2 separate regions of the Homo sapiens genome follow, and region 2 is linked to region 1. The links are contacts of gene promoters, found by promoter capture Hi-C in blood cells and fetal thymus (Javierre and others, 2016). All regions are on one chromosome and are shown on one strand. Each heading gives the region's core, a stretch centred on a gene start or on the middle of the fragment in contact. The rest is flanking DNA. Distances are from core to core; before and after follow the strand shown.

The links. The method cuts DNA at HindIII sites, captures the fragments that hold promoters and counts their contacts. A CHiCAGO score of 5 or more calls a contact.
Region 2: a fragment that was not itself captured here is called in contact with the fragment with the promoter of SYT10 in region 1 in 1 of 17 cell types (neutrophils); the score reaches 5.6 in neutrophils.

The regions. Positions count from the first base shown.
Region 1 is chr12:33,438,404-33,441,232 of GRCh38, forward strand. SYT10 (synaptotagmin 10) reads right to left here and starts at 1,416. Exons shown (of 7, transcript NM_198992.4): 1 at 969-1,416. The coding sequence starts at 1,119. RefSeq lists an enhancer at 327-1,143. The HindIII fragment of the contact is 7,804 bases long and covers 1-2,829 here.
Region 2 is chr12:33,616,575-33,619,403 of GRCh38, forward strand. No RefSeq gene overlaps it. Among named protein-coding and RNA genes, the nearest start is that of SYT10, 180 kb to the left of the region's middle. The HindIII fragment of the contact is 8,094 bases long and covers 1-2,829 here.

The sequences.
Region 1 (2,829 bases), core at 166-2,665:
AGCCCGCAACTCGGGGATCCACCTCGCGTGCGCCCGAGGAGCACAGCAGGCTGGACACACCAACCTTTTCCCCAACCGTGACCCAAACAGTGGCTTGGATTCGATCCTTTCCACCCCCAAGCCTTGAGGAAAATCCACTTGAGACTTTTTTCCATCTCCAGATTTCCGACGGTCGATATCCTCCTGCATCCAGCCCATTTCCTAGTTTCCTGAAGGGTAGGGAGGACGTCTGTGAGTTGGATGTCTGAGAGCGTGCGTGTGCTAGGGATTTTAAACGTCTCCCCTCTCTTCCACTTCTTCGATATGTGCTCTGAGCTTTAGGTGTCGCCTCACAAATGGGATCAATAATCCTTGTTTTACCAACTTTGTCATGAAACCCTAGAAAATCATATATATTAAAAGGGCTTTAGAAATTGTCAGGTGCCCGACAGGTTGCAGCCGCGGGTTACCTCGGAGGCCAAGGCAGCCACCTCTGCAAGGGAGTTCTGCGTCCAAGCATGGCTTGTCCGTCCCGCCTGGCCCCCATCAACAAGGCCGGGACCAGCGGCCGGTGGAACGAGCGAGAGCAGCCCTAGTCCCACAGGTGAGCCGCCCCCACAAGCAGCCAAGCCGCGAGCCGTCCCGGCGCCGTCACCGCCCGCACTCACTTCTCCACTCCGGGAGGGAGATGGGAGGCGTGGGAGAACGCGGAGAGGCGCGGCGAGGCTGGGAGCGGGAGACGGCGCCGGGAGGCGGGAAGCGGACCAGAGAATGGGAGAAGCCCGGCAGGTGGACAGGAGGAAACAAAACCCAAACGCCCCACCCTCGAAGTCGTCAGGAGCTGAGCGAAGGAAGGAGCGAGGTAGGAAAGCGTGGCGCCCCAAATATGCCGCGGGAGCGGCGCGGGAGGCGCAGAACCCCGGAGCTTGCAGCCTAGCGCGCGGGGTCCCAGCGGAGCGCGAGGACGCGAGCGGAGCCCTCCCGGTTACCTGTGCTGCTTCCGCCCTGGCTGCCCCTGTCCCGAGGGAAGATGCCCGAGCACTTCTCCCACTCCACCTGGCCGGCGAAGCACAGCTCGGTGACGATGTGCAGAGCCTTCTGGCACAGACTGTTCACTCCGTCCTCCTTGTGGAAACTCATCGTTTGGCTTTTCTTTCGTTTTCTCTTTTTTTCCCAGTTAGCCGTCTTTTCCTCTTCCCGTACCTCTAACCCCTCTGGCGCCCTAAGCCATAGTCCGCCCGCGGTGACTTTGGCTGGAGATTGCGCCGCTGAGAGCCGGCAACTCTTAGGAGCCCCACGTTGGCCCCATGGCGGGAGCGGAGGGCGTAGGGGAAGGAGAGGCGCGCGAGGAGGCTGCGGCTGCCGCGAGGTTTGCGCCAACTCTCCCGCCGCGCGAGCGAGCCGAGGCGCGCTGGAACTAGAGACCCGGCATGGAGTGCTGAGGGGAGGGGGGAGCCGTAAAAAAGCCAAAGCAAGCCCTCGACTCGCAAGCACGCCCCCCTCCTCTCCCCAGCGCACTGGTGTTTCTGGCGGGTGCCTGGCGGCGACGCGTCCAATCGCAGCCCGGCGCGGGCGCTAGGTGACAGGCGGCGGAGCGCGCAGACCCGGCTCCCCGCGTCCTCTGAAGAAGGGACTCGCGAGGGAGGGAGGGAGGGAGGGCGGGCGGCCCGGCGCCCCTGCCGAGGCCGGGGATGCTCATCGTTGCCCAGAGTTGGCCCGAGGAGCCCTCTCCGTTTTCCCAATACTTTTCCCTGCATCAGTGCAGCCATCCCCGCCGCCTTTGTCTCTCCAACTTTTCCACGGATGTATTCTACTTTCTGTGCTATCTGCTTCTGCCCTTCTGGAAAAGTCATCCCAATCGAAGAAAAACTGAAAAAGTTAATTAGAAAAAAGAATGCGTGAATAAGCAAACCCTCTTAGGTAGATCACAAAATAAAATGTTATTTGTACTAATAATCAGATAAGATTCTGTCGATTAATCCGTAATTGGCGATTGAGAATGCACAACTTGACTCCCTCCATCTCCTTTCTTAGCGACTTAAAACAAGACATGGGTGTTAAAGGGAACAGGATTAAGTTCAAATCTGTCACACATCTCAGCCTAACCTTGAAGTTGTTTTCAGGTCTTGGCGATCCTCCTACTTCAGCCTCCCTAGTAGCTAGGACTCCAGGGACTCCAGGCGCTATTTTTTTTTTTTAAACTTATTGTAAAGACAAGGATCTCACTATGGTGCCCTGGCTGGTCTCGAACTCCTGGGCTCAATCAATCCTACCGCCTTAGCTTCCCAAAATGCTGGCACTAGCCACCACGGCCGGCCTGCTTTCGGGTCTTTGCCTGAGTCTGTAAAATGGGAGATTTGGACTCGGATGTCTTAAGCTCACCTGTTTTTATAATTCTTTAATGCAAATGGGTGCAAATCAGTAGAACTAAAGCGACAAAATAATAAACATGGGCTTCAGGATATAATATGTTTATATGGTTTTTAAACTGTTTTCGGGCAGAGTTTGATCCCATATCATAACCTGAGGATTGATTTAACCCTCTTGTGATGAGGGATTCTTTATTTTTGAAGTGGGATACATTGAACTTGTTAGCGTGTCTATGCTAGTAGAATAAGTAGTCTTTTTTAAAAACAGCTAATCAGTTCATGGTAAATTATTTGCTTTGCACAGGACTATGGTAAACCTAGTATAAATATTAGGCATAGCACTCCAGTAGGGAAGCATTCATTAGTTGAATCATTTTGACCTGATCCATAGGACGATTGGTTTAACTAGGACTATTTTTACCACGAATTAAGACAAACTAAAATCTGCAGGCTTCATTTGGTTTTTGTCTTTATGCACACT
Region 2 (2,829 bases), core at 149-2,648, 180 kb after region 1:
TTATATCATGAATAAGAAACAGGTTTATAAATATCATTATGGTGGATTAGTTTATGAAAATATATTTAATCAATGTCATACTTGCAGATGTCTATCTTTAAAGATTGGCTGAGAATACAACTGTCTTTATGATAGAATCTTATTTTTAAAGAGATAAAAATCTGGTTCTCCATATATTTCCCACTGCTGTTTTCTGCATTTTAAACATTAATTATATTTTTCTATGGATAATTATGTTTCCAATAAAAATATTAACGTCTTAAAAGAAAGGTACATATTAATGACTTACTGGTAAAAAGCTACCATGGGGAAAATAAGTTATTTTCATCCATGACCTCAATTACCATGTATACACTGATGATTTTCTAACCAGAATGTTGAGCTTAATCTTCTCTTCTGAAATTTCATGCACACTCCTTCACTTCCAACTGCCACCCAATTTCCTCTAGGTGTCTCATACCTGAACTGAATTTATCACTTGTTTCTTAAGTTATACTTCCTGCAACTTGAATGAATATTCCTTCATTAATAAAGCTAAACTACACTGGAGATAGAAAGAAAATTCAAAAGCTCTTATAGAATCATTTCCACCCAGAGTTACACCCTGCCTCAACTGGACTTAACTAGTACTGATATGGTTTGGCTATGTTCCCACCCAAATCTCGTCTTGAATTGTAACTCACATAATCCCCACGTCATTGGAGGGACCTGGTGGGAGGTAATTGAATCATGGGGGCAGGTTTTGCCTGTGCTGTTCTTGTGATAGTGAATAAGTCTCACAAGATCTTATGGTTTTATAAAGGGCAGTTCCCCTGCTATGTTCTCTTGCTTGCTGCCATGTAATATGTGCCTTTGCTCCTCCTTTGCCTTCCTCCATGATTGTGACACCTCCCTAGCCATGTGGAACTGTGAGTACATTAAACCTCTTTTTCCTTTATAAATTACCCAGTCTTGGTGTGTTTTTATTAGCAGTGTGAGAATGGACTAATACAGTACACTGGTACCAGGTAGTGGGGCGCTGCTGTAAAGATACCCAAAAATGTGGAAGCAGCCTTGGAATTGGGTAACAGACAGAGCTTGGAACAGTTTGGAGTGCTCAGAAGAATACAGGAAAATGTGGGAAGGTTTGGAACTTCCTAGAGACTTGTTGACTGGCTTTGACCAATGTGCTGATAATGATATGGACAATAAAGTCCAGGCTGAGATGGTCTCAGATGGAGATGAGGAACTTATTGGAAACTGGAGCAAAGGTGATTCTTGCTATGCTTTAGCAAAAAGACTGGTGGCATTTTGCCCCTGCCCTAGAGATCTGTGAAACTTTGAACTTGAGGGGGATGATTTAGAGTATCTGGCTGAAGACATTTCTAAGCAACAAAGTGTTCAAGAGGTGACTTGGGTGCTCTTAAAAGCATTCAGTTTTATTCATTCACAAGGATATGGTTTGGAATTGGAACTTATGTTTTAAAGGGAAGCAGAACATAAAAGTTCAGAAAATTTGCAGCCCTGATGATGTGCTAGGAAAGAAACACCCATTTTCTGAGGAGAAATTCAAGCAGGTTTCAGGAATTTGCATAAGTAATGAGGAGCCAAATGTTAATTGCCAAGATAATGGAGAAAATGTCTCCCAGGCATGTCAGAGGTCTTCACATCAGCTCGTCTCATCACAGGCTCAGAGGCCTAGGAGAGAAAAGGTTTCCTGTGCCATGCCCAGGGATTTGTTGCTTTGTGCAGTCTCAAAAGTTGGTGCCCTTGGCCGGGCGCGATGGCTCACGCCTGCAATCCCAACACTTTGGGAGGCCAAGGCAGGCGGATCACGATGTCAGGAGATGAAGACCATCCTGGCTAACACGGTGAAACCCCGTCTTTGCTAAAAGTACAAAAAAAAATAAAATTAGCTAGGCATGGTGGTGGGCGCCTGTAGTCCCAGCTACTCGGGAGGCTGAGGCAGGAGAATGGCATGAACCCGGGAAGTGGAGCTTGCAGTGAGCCGAGATCGCACCACTGCACTCCAGCCTGGAGTGAAACAGAGCAACAGAGCAACAGAGCAAGACTCCGTCTCAAAAAAAAAAAAAAAAAAAAAAAAAAAAAGTTGGTGCCCTGCATCTCAGCAGTGGCTGAAAGGGGTGGACGTAGCATTCAGGCCATTGCTTCAGAGGGTGAAAGCCCCAAGCCTTAGTGGCTTACACATGGTTTTGGGCATGTGGGTGCACAGAAGTAAAAAATTGAGGTTTGGGAACCTCCACCTAGATTTCAGAGGATGTAGGGAAACACATAGATGTCCAGGCAGAGTAGAGAACCTCTACTTAGGGTAATGCAGAAGGGAAATTTGGCGTGGATCCCCCACACAGAGTCCCACTGAGGCACTGCCTAGTGGAGCTGTGAGAAGAGGGCCACCATATTCTAGACTACAGAATGGTAGATCCACCCACAGCTTACACCATGTGTCTGGAAAAGCCACAGATACTCAATGCTAGCCCATGAAGCAGCTAGGATGGGGGCTGTATCCAGCAAAGCCATAGGGATGGAGGTGCCTAAGACCATGGGAATCCACCTCTTGCATCATGGTAAGCTAAATGTGAGACATGCAGTCAAAGGAGATCATTTTGGAGGTTTACAATTTGACTGCACCACTGGATTTCAGACTTGCATGGAGCCTGTATCCCCTTCATTTTGTTCAATTCCTCCCATTTGCAATGTGTGTATTTACCCAATGCCTTTACCTCCATTGTATCTAGGAAGTAACTAACTTGCCTTTAATTTTACAGGCTCATAGGTAGAAGGAACTTGCCTTGTCTCAGATGAGACTTTGGACTGTGGACTTTTGAGTTA